Regions from separate parts of the Homo sapiens genome. Here regions 1 and 3 are each linked to region 2. Evidence: promoter capture Hi-C in human tissues and cell types (Jung and others, 2019). All regions are on one chromosome and are shown on one strand. Each heading gives the region's core, a stretch centred on a gene start or on the middle of the fragment in contact. The rest is flanking DNA. Distances are from core to core; before and after follow the strand shown.

Evidence for each region. The method cuts DNA at HindIII sites, captures the fragments that hold promoters and counts their contacts. A contact is called where the count stands out against the background at its distance.
Region 1: a fragment that was not itself captured here is called in contact with the fragment with the promoter of C2orf68 in region 2 in 1 of the 25 tissues and cell types used here (adrenal gland).
Region 3: a contact is called between the fragment with the promoter of ST3GAL5 here and the fragment with the promoter of C2orf68 in region 2, in 1 of the 25 tissues and cell types used here (adrenal gland).

The regions. Positions count from the first base shown.
Region 1 is chr2:85,919,670-85,923,521 of GRCh38, reverse strand. No RefSeq gene overlaps it. Among named protein-coding and RNA genes, the nearest start is that of ST3GAL5-AS1, 32 kb to the right of the region's middle. The HindIII fragment of the contact is 6,732 bases long and covers 1-3,852 here.
Region 2 is chr2:85,610,353-85,614,511 of GRCh38, reverse strand. It overlaps C2orf68 (chromosome 2 open reading frame 68), which reads left to right and starts at 2,446. Exons shown (of 4, transcript NM_001013649.4): 1 at 2,446-2,634; 2 at 2,726-2,844. The coding sequence starts at 2,528. It also overlaps a transcript of USP39 not described here. RefSeq lists silencers at 1,946-2,118, 2,605-2,674, 2,294-2,675 and an enhancer at 2,105-2,334. The HindIII fragment of the contact is 29,292 bases long and covers 1-4,159 here.
Region 3 is chr2:85,886,536-85,890,311 of GRCh38, reverse strand. It overlaps ST3GAL5 (ST3 beta-galactoside alpha-2,3-sialyltransferase 5), which reads left to right and starts at 1,322. Exons shown (of 7, transcript NM_003896.4): 1 at 1,322-1,488. The coding sequence starts at 1,407. It overlaps ST3GAL5-AS1 (ST3GAL5 antisense RNA 1), which reads right to left and starts at 1,032. Exons shown (of 3, transcript NR_110569.1): 1 at 509-1,032. RefSeq lists silencers at 921-1,540, 1,581-1,700 and enhancers at 1,871-1,950, 1,642-2,142, 2,481-2,610, 2,621-2,740. The HindIII fragment of the contact is 1,894 bases long and covers 119-2,012 here.

The DNA of each region.
Region 1 (3,852 bases), core at 109-2,608, 310 kb before region 2:
TTCCACAATTTGTGTATCCATTTATCTGTTGTTGGATGTTACATTTGGATTTTTCCAGTTTCTGGCTACTAAGAATAAAGTTGCTGTGAACATTTAGGTACCAGTTTTTGTGTAGGGTGGATGGACATAGGTTTCATTTGTCTAAGGTAAAAATACCTAGAGGTGGAATTTCTGGGTCACAAGATACATGTATGTTTAACTGTATTTAAAAAAAAAAAAAGCCGGGAGTGGTGGCTCTCGCCTGTAATCCCAGCACTTTGGGAGGCCAAGGCAGGCGGATCACGAGGTCAAGAGATCGAGACCATCCTGGCCAACATGGTGAAATCCCATCTCTACTAAAAATACAAAAAATTAGCCGGGAGTGGTGGCAGGCACCCGTAGTCCCAGCTACTCGGGAGGCTGAGGCAGGAGAATCACTTGAACCCAGAAGGCAGAGGTTTCAGTGAGCTGGGATTGTGCCACTGCACTCCAGCCTGGGGACAGAGTGAGACTCCGTCTCAAACAAACAAACAAAAAAACCTCCATGAGGAGGGGGTGGCCACAGCTGTTACTGAAAGTAACCATTTTGGCTGGGTGCAGTGGCTTATGCTTGTAATCCCAACACTTTAGGAGGCTGAAGCGGGTGAATCACTTGAGGCCAGGAGTTTGAGACCAGCCTGGGCAACATGGAGAAACCCCATCTCTACAAAAAATAAATAAAAAAAAAAATTAGCGGGGCATGGTGGCAGGTGCCTATGGTCCCTGCTACTAGGAAGGCTGAGGTGGGAAGATCACTTGAGCTCAGGAGGCAGAGGTTGCAGTGAGCTGAGATGGCACCACTGCTCTCTAGCCTGGGCTACAGAACAAAACCCTGTCTCAAAAAACAACAACAAAAGTAACTGTTTAATTTGCTGAACTAACCAATAGATTTCATAATTGGTGCTAACTTTGGGTTGTACCCAAGAAAATGCTTCTTCATGTTACTAATGGAAGCGGACTAAGTAAAGTTGAAATAGATACACTGAGATTATTTACACCAAAAGTTTGACCAAACCTTTTGGAAATTTGCCTTAAGCTCCACTGATTACAATTAAGCAGGATGATTCATTAAGAATGTAAATAATGGAAAGGTCAGCCTTTGAAAACCAATCTGAGTGCTGAATTTTTACTGCTGTAGACTTAGTCTTACCCCAGGAAAGATAAACGGAATTCTTTGTAACTCAAGGGACAAGTTGCCTGGGCTTTCACTCTCTTGTAGATGTACCTTCAAGCCCAATTGTAATAGAAAATGGCATGATGAAGCTTTTGTGTTTGGGGAATTTGAACGGGAAAAATGGGTCTGACTCTGGCTGGCCCCCGGGGAAGTGGGGCAGAGGAAAATGGCTTCTGGCCCTACATAGAGGTGTTGCAGTCTCACCAACCCACCTTAATGTAGCAGTTTCTCTTTGTCTTAACTGGTACCCCAGGTCCTTTGTCCTATGTCCAAGAAAATTAGGAACGCAGACACAAACATGGTGTTGGAGGGAAAGTTTAATAAGTGAAAGAAATAAAGCTCTCTGCAGCAGAGAGAGGAGTCAGAGTGGATTGCCAGGTTACAGCTGAGAAACCCCTCTCATCTCTGTAGCAGTTTGAGTAACTTCTCTTATCAGTAAGGCTGTCTGTGCGACGCCCCTTATCTCATGCAGCTGTGGGTATGTTTTTAGGTAAGCACAAAGCACAGCTTCTCTTGTTTGTATACTGTGAGTTTGTTTTAGGTAATCCCCCCTCCTCCGTGTGCAAGTTCTCACCATGTATCTGACTGAAAAAGGGAGAAAATTTTTTCCTGGGAGCTTGCTAATTAGACAAAGAATAAAGAACTCCTGTGCGGGATCCTGTTTGTTTATCTGTCCAGGTCCAGCCTGAGTTTTGTTTTGTTTTATTTTCCCCAGGTTGTTTTATTTTTGTCTGTTCCAGCAACTTTTCAGGCAGGCTGCTTCTGCACTCTGAATTTTTCCCAAATGATTTTTCCCACTTTCCTTCTCCCTTAGAGGCATCCTGAACTACTCTGTTTGTCTTGGCAAAACCTTAGAGAAAAGGCTGCAGGTGTCTGGTTAGGCTGAAACTAGGGACTGTGGCCTAAAAAGCTCATGTGAGAGGCTGGACTAGCTTAATCTGTAACCGGGGAAGTGGGATCATCAGAACTGGAAGCTACACTGGGAGCTGAATTGTAGGACAGCAGCAGCAGCAGGTTCCTGGGAGGTCTCCGGGGACCAAGACTGCAGACATTGAATTTCCTGGCAATCTTGGTTGTCCTCTGTATAAATGAATCATTGTTTATCATTCTGCAGACGCTTCTGGTGTTAGAATTTTACACTCATACCCTTTGTTATGTGATTTTGCAGTGCCCTCCATTAGTGTGAGTGCAGTATACCTCCACCAAGCCCGGCAGCCCTGTAGCCTGATGCAGAGCCTCCCAGCCAACCCACAGCCCTGAGGGCAAGGAAAACAAAAGCTCATTGTTGTATGCTCATGGTTTGTTATGCAGAATTATTATAGCATTTGCTGACTGATACATCTACCAAATACCTGGTCTTTTCTTTCATAATAATGCAAACCCCAATTTTTAACTGGCTCTTTGGAATAAGGCTAAATTTCCCAGCCTTTCTTACAGCTAGATATGATCATACTAGTGAGTTCTGGTCAATTAGATGTTAGTAGAAGTGGTTGGGCATGGTGGCTCACGCCTGTAATCCTAACACTTTGGGAAGCTTAGGCAGGCGGATCATTTGAGGTCAGGAGTTTGAAACCAGCCTGGCCAACGTGGTGAAACCCCATCTGTACTAAAAATACAAAAAAAGTTAGCCAGGTGTAGTGGCGGGCGCCTATAATCCCAGACACTCGGGAGGTTGAGGCAGGAGAATTGCTTGACCCCAGGAGGCGAAGGTTACAGTGAGCCAAGATCGTGCCACTGCACTCCAGCCTAGGTGACAGGGTAAGACCCCATCTCAAAAAAAAAAAAAGTTAGTAGAAGTGTTTGTGGCAACTTCTGAGACCTTTCCTTAAAAGCCAATGGCATGCAATCTTCATCTCTGTCTTCATCCTGCTGTCTGGAACAAGGATATAACAGCTGGAGCTCTAGCTGACATTTTGTATCCTGAGAAAGTTGCTCGTGCCCTAGGGAAGATGGAGCTGTGAGCTACCTGGAGCTACCTGGATTATTCTATGAGAGAGAAACAAACTGTTCTTTAAGCCTCTTCATCTCTACCATTCCCCTGCCGAACTTACTCCTGACACAGTTCTCAAGCCAGCTCTTACTAAGTCTGAAGAATAATTGTGATATTACTTATGAGCAGACTACTGACTATTGTGTAGCAATGATCAACTGTTATCTATACAAAGCAAAATGGGTACAGCACCAAATAGTTTAAAGTCGATCTCTCAGGAGGGAGGATAGAGAGTGATTGATAACAGTATTGGTTCCATTAGGAGTTATAAAAATGTTCTACTATGAAATAGTGGTGATGGTTGCACAACTCTGTGAATACACTAAAAAACAGAACTGCATACTTTAAAAGGGTGAATTTTGGCCCAGTGTGGTGGCTCATGTCTATAATCCCAGCACTTTGGAAGGCCGAGGCAGGAAGATTGTTTGAGCTCAGGGGTTCGTGATCAGCGTGGGCAACGTGATGAGAGCCCGTCTCCACAACAAAATTTTATAATTAGCTGGGTGTGGTGGTGTGCACCTATAGTCCTAGCTACTTGGGAGACAAAGGTGGGCGGATCGCTTGAACCTAGGAGGTCGAGGCTGAAGTGAGCAGTGATCATGCCACTGCACTCCAGCCTGGGTGACAGCAGAGTGAGACCCTGTTTCGAAAAAAAGCGGGGGTGGTGAAT
Region 2 (4,159 bases), core at 1,197-3,696:
TACAGAGTCTTGCTCTGTCACCCAGGTTGGAGTGCATTGGTGAGATCTCGGCTCACTGCAACTTCTGCCTCCTGGGTTCAAGTGATTATCCTGCCTCAGACTCCTGAGTAGCTGGGATTACATGCACCTGCCACCATGCCCGGCTAATTTTTGTATTTTTAGTAGGCACAGAGTTTCACCATGTTGGCCAGGCTGGTATGGAAGTGCTGACCTCAAGTGATCCGCCCGCCTCCCCTTCCAAAGTGCAGGGATTACAGGCATAAGCCGCGACACCTGGCTACTTTACTTTCTTAATAAACTTGCTTTTACTTTGCACTGTGGACTCACCCTGAATTCTTTCTTGCACAAGATCCAAGAACCCTCTGCTGGGGTCTGAATAGGGATCCCTTTCCTGTAACATATACACCCATGAAGCCATCACCACAATCAAGAGACGGGATCTGGGCCCAGTACGGTGGCTCACACTTATAATCCCAGCACTTTGGGAGGCCTGAGGCAGGAGGATCACTTGAGGTCAGGAGTTCAAGACTAGCCTTGGCAACATAGAGAGACCCCCCCCATCTCCACAAAAAAATTTTAAAATTAGCTGGGCATGGTGGCATGCTATTCAGGAGGCTGAGGCAGGAGGATCGTTTGGGCCTGAGAGGTGGAGGCTGCAGTGAGCAGTGATTGCACCACTACAATCCAACCTATGCGACAGTGAGATCCTGCCTCAAAAAAATAAAAAAATAAAAAAAAATTTAAAGAATCTACCCAGCCCCAAAGATATCCTCTTCCTCCCAGAGAACCCCCACAAAAATCAACTGATCTCTCGGTCACTATAGATTAGTTTGCACTTCCTAGAGTCTCATATAAATGGAATCATACAGAGTCCCTGGCCTCTTTCACTGGGCATATTTATTTTATGATCCATCCATGTTGTTGAGCTACAGATCTTCCTTTGGATTGCTCAGTAATATTCCATCGTGTGGCTGGACCACCATTGGTCCCTGTTTTTTGTTTTTGTTTTTTGTTTTTTGATTTGGAGGTTGGACTGCAGTGGCTCGATCTCGGCTGACTGCAACCTCCGCCTCCCGGGTTCAAGCGATTCTCCTGCCTCAGCCTCCCAAGTAGCTGGGATTACAAGCACCGGCCATCAAGCCCAGCTAATTTTTTGTATTTTTTTTTAGTAGAGACGGGGTTTCACCATTTTGGCCAGGCTAGTCTCGAACTCCTGACCTCTTGATCTGCCCGCCTGGGCCTCCCAAAGTGCTGGGATTACAGGCGTGAGCCACCACGCCCGGCTCTTTCTTTCTTTTTTAATGTATTTTTTTCTTGTAGAGACGATGTCTCGCTGTGTTGCCCAGGCTGGTCTCAAATTCCTCCCTCCAGCGATACTCCCACTTCGGCATCCCAAAGTTTTGGAATTACAGACATGAGCCACTGCATCCAGCCGTTTGTCCCTGTCCTAATCATGAATTCCTGATTTTGACTTTTGTAAAAGGACTTGAGAATTTTACACGCTGTGACGTGAACCCAGTGGTCAGAAAAAATAGAAAAAAAAAAAAAAGGGGCCGGGCACGGTGGCTCATGCCTGCAATCCCAACACTTTGGGAGGCCGAGGCAGGCGGATCACCTGAGGTCAGGAGTTCGAGACCAGCCTGGCCAACGTGGTGAAACCTTATCTCTACCAAAAATACAAAACTTAGCCGGGCGTGGTGGCACGCGCATGTAGTCCCAGCTACTCGGGAGGCTGAGGCAGGAGAATCGCTTGAACCCGGGAGGCGGAGGTTGCAGTGAGCCGAAATCACGCCAATGCACTCCAGCCTGAGCGACAGAGTGAGACTCCTTCTCAAAAAGAAAAAAAAAAGGAAAAATAAATAAAAAAGAAAATAATACACCCGTAGGTCCCTCAAAAACCCTGGGTCCTCCCGCGGGGACAGTTAAGCCATCGGCGCCGTGAGCAGGAGGCAAGCCGGGCCAGGAGAGCCTTCGCGGCGCCTGCGGCCTGGGCGCCGCTGTTGCCCTGCCTGAGCACTTCAAGGCCTCACAATCCATTTGAGGTAGGTGCTCTAGGTGTTCCCATTTACTAATGAGGAAACTGAGAAGTGGCAGCGTTACACAGTCAGCCAAAGTCACGCAGATGGCGATGGATTGCACAGCATCCTATTACCAGAAAAAAGATGGGAAGGCACCGCCGTAAGCATCGAGTTGTGTTATAGATGATTTGCATTTTTCTGAAGGTTCTGGTATCAGCTGTAAGCCGAAGTCCTTGTTTCCTATTGATATGTTACGAAAAAACAAACAAAAAAAAACAAAAACAAAAGCCCTCCGTCCGGGGGGTGGAAGTCAAGCATACCCTACTCCACCCGACCCGACCAGACCCGAAAACTCCGTGCGCTGCATCGCTTGGCCAGGCCGGGGCCTCCCAGACCGGAAGTCAGGATGCGGGGCCGGAAGCTGAGCAAGGGGCGGCGCGGAGCTCTGTGGGCGGGTGGCTGTTGTTGGGGCCGTCGAGGCGGCGGCGACTCTGCGTCCCCGGCTCCTGATGGAGGCGGGGCCGCATCCCCGGCCGGGGCACTGCTGCAAGCCTGGGGGGCGGCTGGACATGAACCACGGCTTCGTGCACCATATCCGACGGAACCAGATCGCTCGGTACCGCCCCGCCCTGCGCCGCCGCCGCCACCACTCCTGGCCTGGCCTGGCCCGGCCCGACAGTCCCTGACTCCCGCTCGGCTCCCCGCAGGGACGACTATGACAAGAAGGTGAAGCAGGCGGCCAAGGAGAAGGTGAGGAGGCGGCACACGCCCGCGCCGACGCGGCCCCGCAAGCCAGACCTGCAGGTGTACCTGCCGCGACACCGAGGTGAGGCCGCCCGCCCCGCCTGCCTCCAGCCCGCGCGCTCTTCCTGCAACGCACTCCCCTTCTCTATAGGGAAAAACCACTTCTTACTCCTAAGGTTCAGCTCATCTCGTCTCTTTCCGGAACCTCCACCTCAGCGCTCCCAAATCTCCGCTGAATGATTCTCACCAAGAACTGGGACGACTCATAAGCCCCCAGTTAAGCATCGCTGTCAGAGTATCGGGGAGCCAGCAAGAAGTTTATCTGCCGGTTTGCCCCACCGTGCTGTATTTTAGTAAGGTGCTCCGCTACCTAGCAAAGAGAAAGTCTGGCACAGCGATGAGCGACCAGCACATAATTGCGGAATGAACCCAGTAAATGGCCTTTCCCCAGCTTCTCTGCTACCTAGAGATCACACTGGTTAATATATGACGGTCAATTTTTGTTAAGCATTATTACTTTTTTTAAAATGTTTTTATTTTATTTTTGAGACTAGGTCTCTGTCGCCCAGGCTGGAGTGCAATGGTGCGATCTGGGCTTACTGCAGCCTTAGCCTCCCGAGTACCTGGGACCACAGGCGTGTGCCACCACACCGGTTAATTTTGGTATTTCTTGTAGAGAAGGGGTTTCCCCGGCTGGGCGCGGTGGCTCTCGCCTGTAATCCCAGCACTTTGGGAGGCCGAGGCGGGCGGATCACGAGGTCAGGAGATCGAGACCATCCTGGCTAACATGGTGAAACCCCCGTCTCTACTAAAAATACAAAAAATTAGCCGGGCGTGGTGGTGGGCGCCTGTAGTCCCAGCTACTCGGGAGGCTGAGGCAGGAGAATGGCGTGAACCCGGGAGGCGGAGCTTGCAGTGAGCCGAGATCGCGCCACTGCACTCCAGCCTGGGCAACACAGCAAGACTCGGTCTCAAAAAAAAAAAAAAAAGAGAGAGAGAGAAGGGGTTTCTCCACGTTGTCCAGGCTGATCTCGAACTCCTGAGCTCAGGTGATCTGCCCGCATCGGCCTCCCAAAGTGCTGGGATTATAGGTGTGTGCCACTACCTTTGTTAGGCATTAGTGAAAGTGCTTTTAGATCTTACGTATATTAATTCATTGAGTCTTTATACAACCTCATAAGAAAGCTTCTGTCTGTTTCACAGTCAGGAAACAGGCACAGAGAGGTTAAACAACTTGCCCAAGATCTCAGCTAGTAAATGGCAGAGCCTGGATTTGAACCCAGGCAGAGCTCTATCCACCCTTCTGCTTTCCAGTACTTTTTGCTAGACAAATGTGCATTGTGTACCTACTGTGTGACAGGATTGTGCTGGCCTCAGAGCAGGGATGCAAAGGTAAA
Region 3 (3,776 bases), core at 73-2,572, 280 kb before region 2:
ATATGTCCCTCCTCTTATTTTCAGGAATGCCCTGCTGGAGTGCAGTGGCGATCTCGGCTCACTGTAGCCTCTGCCTCCCGGGTTCAAGCGATTCTCCTGCCTCAGCCCCGTGAGTAGCTGAGACAACAGGCTTGCGCCACCACGCCCGGCCAATATTTGTATTTCTAGTAGAGACGGGGTTTTGCCATGTTGGCCAGCTGGTCTTGAACTCCTGACATCAGGTGATCTGTCCGTCTCAGCCTCCCAAAGTGCTGGGATTACGCGTGAGCCACTGTGCCCAGCCACCACTTTACTTTCTTAATAAACTTGCTTTTACTTTGCACTGTGGACTTACTCTGAATTGTTTCTTGCGTGAGATCGAAGAACCCTCTCTTGGGGTCTAGATCGGGACCCCTTTCCTGTAACACATGGGCCTTGGGCTGATCTCCAAGATTAAGAGGGCAAGATACTCAGCTGCAAGGGTCAGCTGTCGCTGACCCCAGCAGCTGCTCTGCCTTGGCCAACTTACCGGATTTAAATCGCCCAGTGACAGCTTTTCCTCCAGTATTTTCAAAATGCTCCCAATATCCTCACGTTAGAACAATCCAGAAATAGTCTTATGGTAAAACTCTTTTGGGAAATGTGAAAGTAGAGTCCTCCCACCTTTTCCTTTGCAACGCTTTTGCCCCAACCTCGATCGCCCAGGCAGCACATTTTTTCCGGCACCCCCACCAAGGGAAGAACAGAGACATCTCCAAACCAGCTGCCCTGCGCCAAGCTGTTACAAAATAGAGCCACAAGTCTCCCGGTTTATGCAAACATATTTGGCTCGGTGTCTAGGATCTTCTTTTTCAAACTCAGAAGGAGATCACAGGCACACGGCCGCGGTGCTGTGTACGCCCCTCTGAAAGGAAGTTCTGCAAGTCGACCGACTTCACTGGCTTCACTGAAGTCCGGTCCGAAACCACCGGAAAGTTGCAGGCGCACAGTATACGTTCAGCTGTGTCCAAGAAATAACCTATCAATCACTGCCTTAAGCTTTGTTTCCTTCCTGAATTTTCTTATTTTCACGAATATTTATGCTTTCACAAACTGTATGTCATTTCCTCTCCAGAACCAAGGGGGGCTCGCCCCAGCCTGGCCCCCGCCCCGGGTGCGTCCCTGCAGGGGGCGCCCTGCTCTGGCAATGCCCACCGCACCGCAGGGCTGACTGGCCGCGCGCCCGGGGGCGGGGGCCGCCGCGGAGGCATCGTGCTCTCCGATTGGCCGTCCGCGTCCTCGTGACGTCAGACCCCGCCCACGCGCCCCTCCTCCGCATCTGAGCGGGGGAGCGGCGGCCCCCAGCTGAATGGGCGCGAGAGCGGCGCTGGGGGCGGGTGGGGGCGCGGGGTACCGGGCTGGCGGCCGGCCGGCGCCCCCTCATTAGTATGCGGACGAAGGCGGCGGGCTGCGCGGAGCGGCGTCCCCTGCAGCCGCGGACCGAGGCAGCGGCGGCACCTGCCGGCCGAGGTACGTGGCGCAGCCCCCTCCTCGGCGTCGCGGGGGCCCGCGGGCTGGGGGCTGCGGCGGCGACTTGTCTCTTCCCGGGCCGGCTGGGCGCGGCGTTTCCGCCTCGAACCCCGCGGGCAGCGCCCAGGGCACGACACCCTCAGGCGAGCCCGGCTGGGGCGCGGGCGGAGGGTCGTGGTCCCGGGCCGTGTGGACCGGGCGGGGGGTCCCACGCAGGTGTGTACGCGGTAGAGGGTGGGGCGGACCGCCGGGTGTCGGGTCCCGCCGCAGTGGCCCTTTCCCCGCCGCTTTCCGCTGCAGCTCGGGATTTAATTCATTGCTGGAAGCTTCGGAGTTAGCAGAGCCGAGTTAACTCGTTTTCCTGGGATGGGCTTAGGGAACCCCCTGCAAGGTTACTAGCAGCTCCTGAAACCTCTCTCTGCATCCATCGGGGAGGCGTGATGTGGGGCCGCTGGTAGAAATTTGCCGGTGACCTTCCCTGCACCCTCTCTGCAGCCAGCCTTGCGGAGAAGACAGGTTTTGGCGACCTTTTGATTTCTTCTGAATTGTAAGCCGTGGCTTGACGCGGGTGTGCATTCATTGTACGCCTTGCGTGTGTAAGTAACGCAGGGTTTTCCGAGAGCATCCCCGAGGAGCCCTGCCCTTGCCTCACACCCGCTTGGTGACCTTGGCAGACACTGATCCCCCTGTGGGGCTCGGGCTCATGGTCTCTCCTGAGAAGCTTACCCTGCCGATGGCCGAGGTCCCTTCCAGGCCCCGGGTTTTTCTAATCATAAAAAAATACGTTTACGAGGGTAGAGGATCCTGCAGAATCTCTAGCTGACTCGGAAGACGAATTTTATATCCTCATGTCTTAAGTCATGCATGCGGCTTTTGCTTAATTAGGCATCGTTCATTTGAAGGGGAAAATGGTTTTATGTGCTGCGCTTCATCTGGCACCAGTGGTTGCCTGCTCCTCGTGGCAGGGCCGTGCTGGGTGTCACAGAGAGGAAGGAGACTCATCTCCTGCCCTCTGGTGTTTAGCTGCCCTCCCCCGGGCTTATGGCTGCTAATCCTTTTCCACGGAAGGATACAGCTGCTGAAACTGTGGAAGAGGAATCCATTTCTGCTGCATGAAGGGGCACAGACTTGAATACAGTCAGGACAGGTTGTGGTTTCACTTGTGTAATCCTGAGAGCTTGACAGCTTCGAGGAGTGTCTAACATTGCTAGTAACAGAGCCTAGAAGCACCTGAATTCCAGCTGTCACTTGGAGAAGGAGAGATTCATACGAACTGCGAGAGCATATAACCAGCATGTCTTGAGTCTTTTACCCATGTGCCTGTTATATGGATGCTGCTGTTTTTGTAAGATGAAATGACCCTTGGATATTCTGGGTTATGATCAGCATTTCTTCGTCTAGGCGAGAAAAGAAACAGGTGAGATAGGAAGGCATGAAGGGGCTCATGGAAGAGAGAGGGCTGACAGGCAGAAATTTTGAGAGCTCACATTTACGACTATTTGGACAGTTCTTATAATTTTGGCATAAATTGTAAATTGTTGCATGTTATCAAAATAGATTGGTGATGAACGTTAAGGATATATCCGTGGCAGAATAAGAACACACTCTTTGTTCTTTGGTTTGCTCCTCTAGTTCTTCCCTGCTTGCCTTGTGGGACTATTTGCAGCAATGAGGGGAATTTATCTAGCAGGTTGGCCTCGGGAGGCAATGAATGAAAAGAGGTTGGTGAGTCCTCTGTGGGAGTCCATTCCAGGTCCTGGAGGGCTGAGGTGGGTGTCTTGGAGCCAGCAGTTTCTGGGAGAAGGGATAAAGCTCACCTTCCACACCCTCCTGGCTCCTGAGGAGCGATTTAATCCGCACTGCCTGTGGACACGATGGAGGACTGAGATCACTCCCGAAGGGCATGCTCCGTGGTTTTAGTCTGCTGGGAAGCTCTGGCAGAAGTAAAACAACTGGGAATATACACATGTTAATGATGCTCCAAGCTGCCTAACTGCTGAGGAAGGAAAAGCAAGGGCTGGATCAGTGTGGGTGGCATAAGTTAGCAAAGGCATCCAAAGTGGGGTGAATCACAGGCCTGGTGTGGGAGGAAACCATAAATATGACGGTGACACGCAGGCTCGCCCGGGAGACAGCCAGCTTAAGCACACGTGCAGAGGAGAAGCAAGTGAAATGCGTAAGGGAGCAGGAGAAAAATCAGCTTTGAGGCTTCAAGGACACTACCAGGCTTGTCTTACCTGGACACCAGACAGACAAAACTTTTTTTTCCTCTTTTTTTTTTAAGTATA